Linked DNA regions of Homo sapiens: regions 1 and 2 are each linked to region 3. The links are contacts of gene promoters, found by promoter capture Hi-C in blood cells and fetal thymus (Javierre and others, 2016). All regions are on one chromosome and are shown on one strand. Each heading gives the region's core, a stretch centred on a gene start or on the middle of the fragment in contact. The rest is flanking DNA. Distances are from core to core; before and after follow the strand shown. Region 1 overlaps ELL (elongation factor for RNA polymerase II). Region 2 overlaps ELL (elongation factor for RNA polymerase II). Region 3 holds the start of COMP (cartilage oligomeric matrix protein).

What was found. Contacts are between HindIII fragments. The CHiCAGO score rates a contact against its expected background, and 5 or more counts as called.
Region 1: a fragment that was not itself captured here is called in contact with the fragment with the promoter of COMP in region 3 in 1 of 17 cell types (erythroblasts); the score reaches 5.4 in erythroblasts.
Region 2: a contact is called between a fragment that was not itself captured here and the fragment with the promoter of COMP in region 3, in 1 of 17 cell types (erythroblasts). The highest score is 5.2, in erythroblasts.

The regions. Positions count from the first base shown.
Region 1 is chr19:18,459,649-18,463,346 of GRCh38, reverse strand. It overlaps ELL (elongation factor for RNA polymerase II), which reads left to right. Exons shown (of 12, transcript NM_006532.4): 5 at 1,495-1,769. Among named protein-coding and RNA genes, the nearest start is that of ISYNA1, 23 kb to the right of the region's middle. RefSeq lists an enhancer at 1,204-1,263. The HindIII fragment of the contact is 469 bases long and covers 1,479-1,947 here.
Region 2 is chr19:18,507,691-18,511,184 of GRCh38, reverse strand. All of the region lies in intron 1 of ELL (elongation factor for RNA polymerase II), which reads left to right. Among named protein-coding and RNA genes, the nearest start is that of ELL, 13 kb to the left of the region's middle. RefSeq lists an enhancer at 2,923-3,494. The HindIII fragment of the contact is 1,228 bases long and covers 1,284-2,511 here.
Region 3 is chr19:18,790,055-18,793,597 of GRCh38, reverse strand. It overlaps COMP (cartilage oligomeric matrix protein), which reads left to right and starts at 2,293. Exons shown (of 19, transcript NM_000095.3): 1 at 2,293-2,407; 2 at 2,663-2,748; 3 at 2,985-3,036; 4 at 3,484-3,543. The coding sequence starts at 2,329. RefSeq lists enhancers at 1,974-2,552, 2,553-3,133, 3,134-3,543. The HindIII fragment of the contact is 6,208 bases long and covers 630-3,543 here.

The DNA.
Region 1 (3,698 bases), core at 464-2,963, 330 kb after region 3:
AAAAAAAAAAAAAAAAAAAAAGATGTGAATGTGCGTGTTCCTCTGTCTCACAGTGCCCCCCTCAGGTTGCTCCTCCTCCCTGTCAATCAGCCTGGCCCTATATGGGTGAGTCCAGCCCTGCTGTCAGGACCCCACTGAACAGACCCCAGAGGTGTGAGCACTGGCCCTGGGTATTCTGAAAGCAAGGCTTTCTGGGTTAATTTGACAGATCAGATTTTGAGAGATAAGATCAGAGTGATGTTGTTACGAAGAGCTTTTGGGGGAAGGATTTGAGGCACTGTTGAGCTTGCTCGGCCGACCCTGTTCCCAAGGATGCCGGGGCATCATTGTTCAGGACAGAGCAGGGGAGCAGCGTGCTGGACCCTGCCCACGTCTCTGCGTTGGGGATAGAGGGGAACCTGCTCTCCCCAGGGCTCTGGGCACAGCCACGCCTGCCAGAGGAGAGCTTGACCAGGCCTAAGGCTGGGGTGCCACTTGCACCTCAGGGTCTTCAGAGCAGCTGCTGAAAGTGGCTCCGACATCTTTACTGACTTTAGAAAAACAAAAATGGCAGCCACATGGGGCCAGCATAGGACTCTGAAGTGCAGGCTTGGGAGTGACTGCCTCTTGCAGTTCAGGGACCCCCAGTTTAACATCAGAAGGGTTTACAAACAGCCCCTGCCTCAGGTTGGGCAGGATGGCTCTGGTTTATAATACCAGCACTTTGGAAAGCTGAGGTGGGAGGGTCCTTTGGGCCCATGAGTTTGAGACCAGTCTGGGCAGCATAGTGAGACCCCATCTCTACAAATAATATAAATTAGCCAGGCATGGTGGTGCACACCTGTGGTCCCAGCTACTCCAGAGGCTGAGGTGGGAGGATCGCTTGAGCCCAGAAGTTTGGGGCTGCAATGAGCCATGATTGTATTACACTCCAGCCTGGGTGACAGAGCAGGATCCTGTCTCAAAAAACAAAACAATCCTTCCCCCCCCGCCCCCCGCCCAAACACACACACACACACACACACACACACAGCCCACTAGAGTGATCAGGTGATTTCATACACGCACACACACATTGCCCACCAGAGTGATCAGGTGATTTCTCACACACACATACTGCCCACCAGAGTGATCAGGTGATTACATACACACACACACACACACACACACACACACACACACACACACTGCCCACCAGAGTGAGAGTGATCAGGTGATTTTGCTGTCCAGGATTTAGGTTGCCTGTGATGAAGTAAGTAAGGCTCTAACACAGTTCTGCCGCCTGCACCTCCCACTTCTGAGGCTGGGTGCCCTGCAGGTGCCTGCCTTGGGCAGCAGGTGGCGCTCTTGGTCGCCCAGGGTCCCCAAGGAGCAAGCTGGCTTTTGCTGTGGTTGGTGTGGTGCCTCCCACCAGCACTGTCTATAGTCTCAAACCTCTGGGCACCTGGTCAGCAGCACTGGCTTAGGACACGGCAGCGCCCTCTCTGTTCCCTAAAGCTTGGATTCTTGTTGCAGGCAAGAAGGTTCAGTTTCGGAAACCAGCCCCAGGTGCAACAGACGCGGTGCCCTCCCGGAAGCGGGCAACCCCCATCAACTTGGCGAGTGCCATCAGGAAGAGTGGTGCCAGTGCCGTGAGTGGGGGCAGCGGGGTGTCCCAGAGGCCCTTCCGTGACCGAGTGCTGCACCTCCTGGCACTACGGCCCTACCGCAAGGCTGAGCTGCTGCTGCGACTGCAGAAGGACGGCCTGACGCAGGCGGACAAGGACGCGCTGGATGGCCTCCTCCAGCAGGTGGGTGCCGCCCCGATGTCTTGTCTTTACCAGTGGTCTCCGCAGATGGTCTTGTGCGGGTGGGATGGGCCAGAGCATGGAGACTGGGATTGGGACTGGCAAGGAAGAGCCCTTCCTGGGGTCTCTCACAGGTTCAGAACCTGCCTGAGAGCCAGGGCCTCCTGGATTAGAACAAGCTTAGGGGGCCATGGATGCGTTTCTGGGCATGGCCCCGACTGTCCAGGGTTGAGAGGTGGACTCAGCATGGAGCCCAGGCCCTCCTTCACTGTCTGCTGACACACGGGCCGTGGGGCCTGGCACAGTGGATTCAGGCTTCAGTTGCAGACGATTTGTGGACTCAAGGCCTGGGGAAGGAATCTACACGTGCCTGGCAGAGCCTGGCAGGCCTCAGTGTGAATCAGCTGCCTGCCGCCCTCCACCTGCGCCTCCGGGTGAGGGGCTTCACGTCTCAGACCATCAGGCTTCCATCTGTGACCTGCAGTGCCCCTCCCTGGGGTTGGAGGCTAGGCCATCTGGAATGTGGTGCTGGCGAGTGGAGCCTGCTCTTGAGAAACACCCCGGGCATTGGAGCAGGTGCGATGGCCCTGACTGCCTTCCACCCCCCTCACCCATGGAGGTTCCTGAGGCTCCACCTTGGCTTCCTGGGGTCCCTGGGAAGGGGAGTGACTCGCACTGGCTTCAGAACATTAGCCAGGCTATGCAGATGCAGCCTTGAGGTGAACTGAGGATGGGTCTCCTCGGATCGCTGCTGTGGTGGAGGAAGAGACATGGCTGAGCCTCTTGCACCTTTTAGGATGATGGAAGTGGGATGTTCGGGGTCACATCCAGCACCTCAGGAACACAGGTGATGCCTGCAGCAAAAAGCACATGCTGTGGCATGCCGGGATAGCAGCTGTATAAAGGACGTTCTTCCATGTTTACGGAGCTCCTCATAGGCGTCCCTCTCGGGTGCGCGGCTGGTGGGACCCTGTTCCACATTCCTTGGGAGGATGTCAGCCTGGCCCTCGTCCACCCCCATCCTGCTCCCAAGGCTAGGGCTGGCATGGTGCCAGCAGGAGTTGCTGAAGGGAGCTCGATGGAGTCATCAGATGTGGGACCTGCATTGGCCTGGCCAGGAGGTGTCTGTGCTGGTGCCTGGCTTCTCCAGGTGACTTTGGTTCAGTGCCTCCTGGGAGCAGGCCTGGCCAGCATCTGCAGGCAGATTGTCCCTTCCTGTGCCACTGTGACTTCCCCTGGACAGCTCGTCTGCTTCTTGCTTCTATATTCATTATGCAGCTGCTTCCCCCCAAGCAGCTGTGGGGGTCAGCAGGACACTGTTGGCTTGTAGAAGAGGAGGGGGATGTGCCTCACCCAGACTGGTCATTTCCAGCCCCTCACAGGCCCTCAGACATGCTGAGGAATGGCAGTGACAAAACTGCATGCCTCAAAGGTGCTTGGCCCTCCCTCTGTGGAAAAATCTAGAGCAGAGATGGAAGGTGTCCACCTCTAGGACTGGCTGAGCCCCAGGGAAACCCGCAAGCCTATCCTTCAAGGGGAGGGGTGTTGACGGCTGAGTAATATTTAGCAAAGCCTGTCATGAGCCATAAAAATATTCAGCCTTTGACCTACTAATCTGGCTTCTGGGAATCCCGTCGAAGGAAACTGTTGCCAACCTGAAAAAAACTGCACACAGTAATGTCTGTTTATGCTACAGAGAAACTGGCAGCAGTTTGGGGGTGGGATATTACTCAACTGTTAAAAATGCTCCCCATGGGCCGGGCGCGGTGGCTCACGCCTGTAATCCCAGCACTTTGGGAGGCCGAGGCAAGTGGATTACGAGGTCAGGAGATCGAGACCATCCTGGCTAACATGGTGAAACCCCATCTCTACTAAAAATACACACACAAAAAAATTAGCCGGGCGTGGTGGCGGGTGCCTGTAGTCCCAGCT
Region 2 (3,494 bases), core at 648-3,147, 280 kb after region 3:
TGCCATTCTCCTACCTCAGCCTCCCGAGTAGCTGGGACTACAGGCGCCCACCACCATGCCTGGCTAATTTTTTATATTTTTAGTAGAGATGGGGTTTCACCATGTTAACCAGGATGGTCTCGATCTCCTGACCTCATGATCTGCCCGCCTCAGCCTCCCAAAGTGCTGGGATTACAGGCATGAGCCACCGCACCCGGCCCATGCGTAGCTAATTTTTATATTTTTAGTAGAGACGGGGTTTCACCATGTTGGCCATGCTGGTCTTGAACTCCTGACCTCAGGTTATCTGTCCACCTCGGCCTCCCAAAGTGCTGGGATTAGAGGTGTGAGACACTGCTCCCGGCCTCATTTGGTCATTCTGTGTTTAATTTTTTGAGGATTTGCCAGATTGTTTTCCACAGCGGCTGCAGCATTTTACATTCCCACCAGCCGTGCACAAGGGTTGTGGTTTCGCCACGTCCTTGCCCGAACTGGTTATTTTTTGATGGTAGCCATCTTAATGGGTGTGGGGTGGTCTTGGAGCCATTTAAATGCCCTCATGTATGTGACTGTCCTGTGAGAGCTAGGACCTGCAGGGCCTCTGATGCCCCTGGATGGACCCAGGAGTCACCTGGTCACAGGTGACAGAGGAAGGTCTCGAGCAGGATCACCTGGGCTCAGGTGAGAGAAAGGGACAGGGAGAGCCCGGTGTGGCTCTGCAGTGAGGGAAGCTGGGGCTGAGTGGAGATGACAGTGGCTACGTGCCCTGCTTCTGCATAGCCAGTGTGCGGTTGCCCGGCCTGTGTTGGGATGCAGGTTTCTCTTTTTGTTTTGAGACCGAGTCTCACTCTGTCACCCAGGCTGGAGTGTGCAGTGGTGTGATTCTTGGCTCACTGCAACCTCCACCTCCCAGGTTCAAGCAATTCTCGTGCCTCAGCCTCCAAATTAGCTGGGATTACAGGCTTGCGCCACAATGCCCAGCTAAGTTTTTTGTGTTTTTAGTAGAGACGGGGTTTCACCATGCTGGCCAGGCTGGCCTCAAACTCCTGGCCTCAAGTGATCCACCCACCTTGGCCTCCCAAAGTGCTGGGATTACAGGCGTGAGCCATCGTGCCCAGCTGGGACATGGGTTTCTGTAAGCAGTGAGGGTTAGGAAGGGCCTTGGGTGAGGTTGGCCAGGGTGGTTGAGCCTCTCAGTGGCAGGACTTCTGAGCCCTGCAGGTACTGAGGCTTCAGGGCCCTTCTCAGGCAAAGAGCTCAGATGGGTGCAGAATCTCTATTTTTAGCCCTTTTTGGATTAAGCTTTTGTGGAAAATGAGGTCTCTTCCAGGTGAGAAGTGGCCTGGAGGTCCTGCAGGTCAGGGACAGCCCACTGGGGGGCACTGGCTGGGCGGGGGGGTCCAGCTGCTGCCCTTGGCCTAGCCCTGAGGCATTTGCTGAAGGTGGGTGGGAGGGAAGAGGAGGAGCAGAGTTTTCTTAGGATCCTGTGGGCAGGTGGAATCCACCTACTTCCAGGAGGAGCCCCAGGCCTCCAGTTGGGGAGGGGAGTGTGTGTGTGTGTGTGTGTGTGTGTGTGTGTGTGTGTGTGTGTGTGTGTGTGTGTGTGTATGTGCGCGCGCGCGCACGTGCATTGGCCTGTGTCTCCATCTGTGTTCACCCTGGAGACCTTAGGTTGGGCCCCTCTATCCAGGGTAGGCTGATTAGTGGGGGCCTGTGGGCCAAGGGGCCGGGTGGGGGCGGCCACCCCATCACATTGCCCTTCTTTCGGAAGGGTGACTCCCCACCAGGAACCCAAAGGGCTTGGGGTGGCCTTGTCTCCTCCCACAGGCCTGAGGAGGGTAAGCTGGGTTGGGAAGTTCCTTTTTCCTTTCTGAAAACAGTGACTTTTCGGGGTACAATGAGCTTCCTGCTGTGGATCTTGTAGCCCCTACACCTGGAGGGAGTGACCTTAGGGTCTCAGTGGGCACTGTGATAAGGATGCCTGCTGGATTGCATCAGGGCGCCTGGTTCACAGGACCTCCAACCTGGCTGCTGTGGGGAAGGGCCCTGGTGGGTGCCTCCTGCTCACGGCTACTCTGAAATATTATTCCCGAGATCTTGAGGGGAACCTGGGCTGCGTCCACCTCATGTTTGCTCCATTTCCCCATGGAATTAGTGGTAGAGGTGACTCACAGGGTCTCTTTTTGTGTCCTCAAGGAAACTGAGGCCTATAGGCTCTGCCCAGGGTCACTGCTATAGTTGCTTATCCCCACAACAAGGCTTGCTGCCTTGTTAGGACGCGGACAGAGTGGGCTGTAGTGTGATCTTTTTCAGCAGCAACCCTAGAGACTATAGCGTGTTGGTAAACTGTGGCCAAAGGGCTGGGTCTGGCCTGCCACCTGTCTTTGTAAATAAAGTTTTATAGGGACACAGCTGCCCACTTGCTTACCTGTAATTTATGGCTGCTCTTGCCCTGTGACGGCAGCCAAGGCTGCAACTGTCTAGCTCACAAAGCCTGAAATACCAACTCTTTGGCCCTTCATAAAAGAAGCTTGCTGGCCGCTGGTCTAGGGTGTCCAGCTGGGTGTGTGGCAGGAAGAGTTGGTGTGTTAATGGAACCACTGTCGTGGGGCCAGGCTCGGGCCTTGGGCTCCCAGGCCCCTGTGCAGTGCCAGGCAGCCCTGTGAAGCCTTGCTGTTGGCCAGGGCCAGTTGAGACTTTGGAGGGTCCTTTTGTTCTGGCCCCTTTATTTCACTAATGGGACATCTAGAAGATAATGGCTAACTTGAGATCACACAGTTAGTGCAGATGATGTCAAACCTTGAACCTGAGGGCATCCACTCTGGGACAGGCTACCCTCCTGGCTGCTGACTCTTGTATTGTATTTTATTTTATTCTATTTTTGTTTTTATTTTTTAGAGAGAGGGTCTTGCTGTGCTGTCCAGGCTGGAGTGGAGTGGTGTGATCATAGCTCACTGCAGTCTGTTAACTCCTGGCCTCAAGTGATCCTCCCGCCTTGGCCTCCCAAAGTGCTATAGGCGTGAGCCACCACACTCAGCTGTGACTCCTATTTTGATCTCATGCAAACTCAAAATGTTTCTCAGCCCGCATGGGAGTCCCTGGGTTTTCCGGGAGTTTTTCTCAGGGACTGCATCAATCCTGACATAGCCTCCAGTGGGAACCGGCCTCTTTATTTGTGACCTGTATGTGACCTTTGAAACAAAACACAGTCATGTGCAGCCTGGATGGGAAGGGCTGGCTTGTGTGTCCCTTGTGGAGTTGGGAGCAGCTGCCGCATGGAGTCAGCCTCAGCCTGCTGCATCCTCATCTCTGGGGATGGAGCTGGGGGTCAGGCGTCTGCCTCCAGATGGGTAGTGGGGCCCGCAGAACCTGTGTCTGATTCTAGTTGGGCTCTGAATGCAGTCTCTGAGCTGAGCCTCAGCTGCGTGGTTGTTCGGCGGGGCACAACCTACACAGTGCAATCTCCTACACAGAGGGATTGCACCCAGTGAGGGTTCGGCTGCCTCCAGGAGTGT
Region 3 (3,543 bases), core at 1,044-3,543:
CTCATGGCCCCAATGTAGGCAGCAGGCAGGGCAGGCACTATTGAGGACAGGCTTCATTGGAAATGCTCTGGCTGGGACCAGCTGCTTCCACCAACACTCCACTTATAGGCCTGTCTCTCTTCACGCACTCTCTGTGGCTCCCCATTACCCTCGGGAGACCACTGGAGCCCCACACCACCAGCACTGCCCTTTCACACACAGCCTCATCTCCTGCTTCTCACTGAGCCCCAAGAGCTTGTCACCTTGAGGTCAGTCCATCCAACGGGCCAGGTTGGTTCCTGCCTCAGGGCCTTTGCCTATGCTGTTTCCTCTACCTGGAATGACTTTCTGCTACCTCTGCCTGGCTGTGTCCTCCTCATCATCCGGTCCTCAGCTTGGTGGTCCCTCCTCCTCCAGAAGCCCGCCCTGACCCATCCCCTTTCAAACAGATCAATTTCCTGGGGACTCCTACCATTGTCTGTGTGTCCCGTCACAGCCATGAGCCCACTGGGCTCCCCATTTGAAGGAGAGACTGGGTCTGGCTTCTTCACCCTGTGTGCCCATCACCCAGCACAGGAGACATGACACACAACAGTCCTTGATGTTTGTGAAATAATTATTGTGTCTAGAAATGTCCCCACCTCCAAGCTTCACATGCTTCCCTCCACCAAAACTGCCCTCACCTTTTCCCTCTGCTGATCCAAGTCCTCCTTTTCTTTTATGTCTGTCTCCTTGCTACCTCCTCCAGGAAGCCCTCGGTGACTTCTCTGTAGGCTCCCCAGAAAACATATCTGGCTCTGAGTCTAGATTCACCCCTGCCCTCGGGCAGTGGCCTTAGGCCAGTCACTTTTTCTCTCTGGGCCTCAGTTTCTCTGTCTATAGAATAGACGCTGTGAGTACTGGAAGGTGGGAGTGGAGAGTGTTAACTGATTGCAGGAGGTTAAGGGGTTTTGTAACTCCAGAGTGTGGCTGGCCAGTTAGCGGTAACTTTTATTTTTATTACAGGCTGTTCCCACAGCAGCTGGAGCACAGTTTGGAAGGTATGGCACAGCCTGGACAAACAGAAGCCCCGGACCTCCCCTTGCTAGAGCCCTTTAACTTGCTCCCCTCCAGATGGGGGCCTCACACCCCATTGCGCAGATTGGAAAACCAAGTGGGCCTGTCCCCTTGGACAGGGGTTGGGGCAAGATCCTGAACGCTGTCCCCTCCTCCACCAGCCGAGGGACCATGGGGAGGGGAGGGAACACCAGCAATGAGTTGGGTTGGGGGGAGTCATTTGCAGCCCTCCAGCGTTGGGGCCAGAAGCGGCCTCCTTGGACAGAGGCAGGAAAATTGAGAGTCCCAGGTCTCAACTGCCCCTCCCCTATTTTCCATTCATCATCATAATCATCATTACTATTAATCATTAATTAATAATTATTAACTTATTACCTCCATTGTGCAAGGGAGGAATTACGCCTGGGTAATTTTTGTACTTTTAGTAGAGATGGGGTTTCACCATGTTAGCCAGGCTGGTCTCAAACTCCTGACCTCAGGTGATCTGCCCGCCTTGGCTTCCCAAAGTGCTGGGATTACAGGTGTGAGCCACCGCACCCAGCAACTTACCCAGTTTTGAAGCACTTCAGGAGGAGTGGAGGGCCAGTCAGTCTGATCCATAGTGGGTGGACCTATTTTTTCAGACGCTGGTGACTCTGTTTCCCGAAGTGTGAGCTGAGAGCGTGGCCATGGAGCCTGCCTTGTTTGGAACTGGAACTCAGGTTTGGCATACAGCAAGCACTCAATCAATCAATCAATCAATGAGCTGAATGCTATGGCTGGATCCTGTAATCCCAGTTATGTGGGGAGTATCGCTTGAGGCCGGGAGTTTGAGACTACTAGCCTGCAGGACATAGCCAGACCCGGTCTCTAAAAATAAAAATAAAAATAAAAATAAATTAGCTGGACTTGGTGGTGCGGGCTTGTAGTCCCAGCTACATGGGAGACTGAAGCAAGAGGATGCGATACAGCCACACCCCGTCACACACACACACACACACACACACAGACGCACACACACAGTGAATGAAAGTGGGGGCAGTACCCCCTGACTCCCTGCCCCACCAGCTCTCTCCACAGACCCCGGGACTCAGTTTCCCCACCATGTCGGATTCAGCCGCGGGCGACTTCGCGGGGCATTCCGGGCGGGGACTTGAACGCAGGGGCCAGCGCCATCTGTTTACCTTGAGGCTGGACGTTGGGCAGGGCTGTGGTGGGCCGTCCCTGGGGCCGGCCGTGCCTTGGGGATAAATAGGCCCCGCGGGCCTCGTGGGCGGTAGAAAGCGAGCAGCCACCCAGCTCCCCGCCACCGCCATGGTCCCCGACACCGCCTGCGTTCTTCTGCTCACCCTGGCTGCCCTCGGCGCGTCCGGACAGGGCCAGAGCCCGTTGGGTAAGCCGCGTTAGCACCCGCGCCGTGCCCACGGCCCCACAACGGACTGTAGGACCCGTGAGAGGCCCGGGATCCAGGCTGTTTGGGGCTCACGGACTGTTCGTAGGGGACGTGCCGGGCGCAGAAAGCAGGTGGCGGGACCGAGACTAGAGGAGCGCAGTGGGGCCTCGGAGGTCCGGGTTCGCTGCAACGGTGGGAGTTGGTGGTGGGATTCCCCGGCCCCATGACGCCTCACCAGGTCCCCTGCCGCCGCAGGCTCAGACCTGGGCCCGCAGATGCTTCGGGAACTGCAGGAAACCAACGCGGCGCTGCAGGACGTGCGGGAGCTGCTGCGGCAGCAGGTGCGGGGCCCGGGTGCGGGGCAGGGAGTGCCAGGGAACGGAAGGGGGTCTCAGTTCCCAGCGAGGAGAGAGGAAGTACCCGAGAAGGTGGAGAGGAGATGGGGAGGGAAGGGGGTCGGCGGGTAGGGAGTCCTTGGCGAAAAGAGGCTGTAGAAAGGGACCCCGGGGTAGAGAGAGGGGAGACCCGAGGGATGAGGAGAGGTTGGGACCCCGCTGATTCCATCCCACCCCTGCAGGTCAGGGAGATCACGTTCCTGAAAAACACGGTGATGGAGTGTGACGCGTGCGGTGAGCGCGGCGGGGCGGTCGGGAGAGAGAAGAGACGGGAGACAGAGACACAGAGACAGAGACAGAGAGCCAGGGAAAGCTGGGGAGGAAAAGAGACGGAAGGAGATGGAGGCTGACGGAGAGGTGGACGGACGAACGGGAATGGGATGGGGTGTGTAGAAACAGAGACAAAAAGAGACAGAAGCGGTGAGAGAGTTTTGGGGAAGTGAGAGACGCCACGGGGCAGAAAAGCGGGACAGAGACTCAGAGAAGAGACCGGGGAGACCCCGCGGTCAGAGCGCGCAGCCTCTGGGGCGGGATCGCGGACAGCGCAGGATTTCGGGCCGCCCCGGGGCGGGGGGTGGGGGGGAAGGGGAAGCCTCCAGCCCCGGGGCGTGGCCATGATAGGCTCTGCCCCCGGGCGAGCCACCGATCAGCCCCGCCGCTTCTCCCCCCTCCCCCCCGCAGGGATGCAGCAGTCAGTACGCACCGGCCTACCCAGCGTGCGGCCCCTGCTCCACTGCGCGC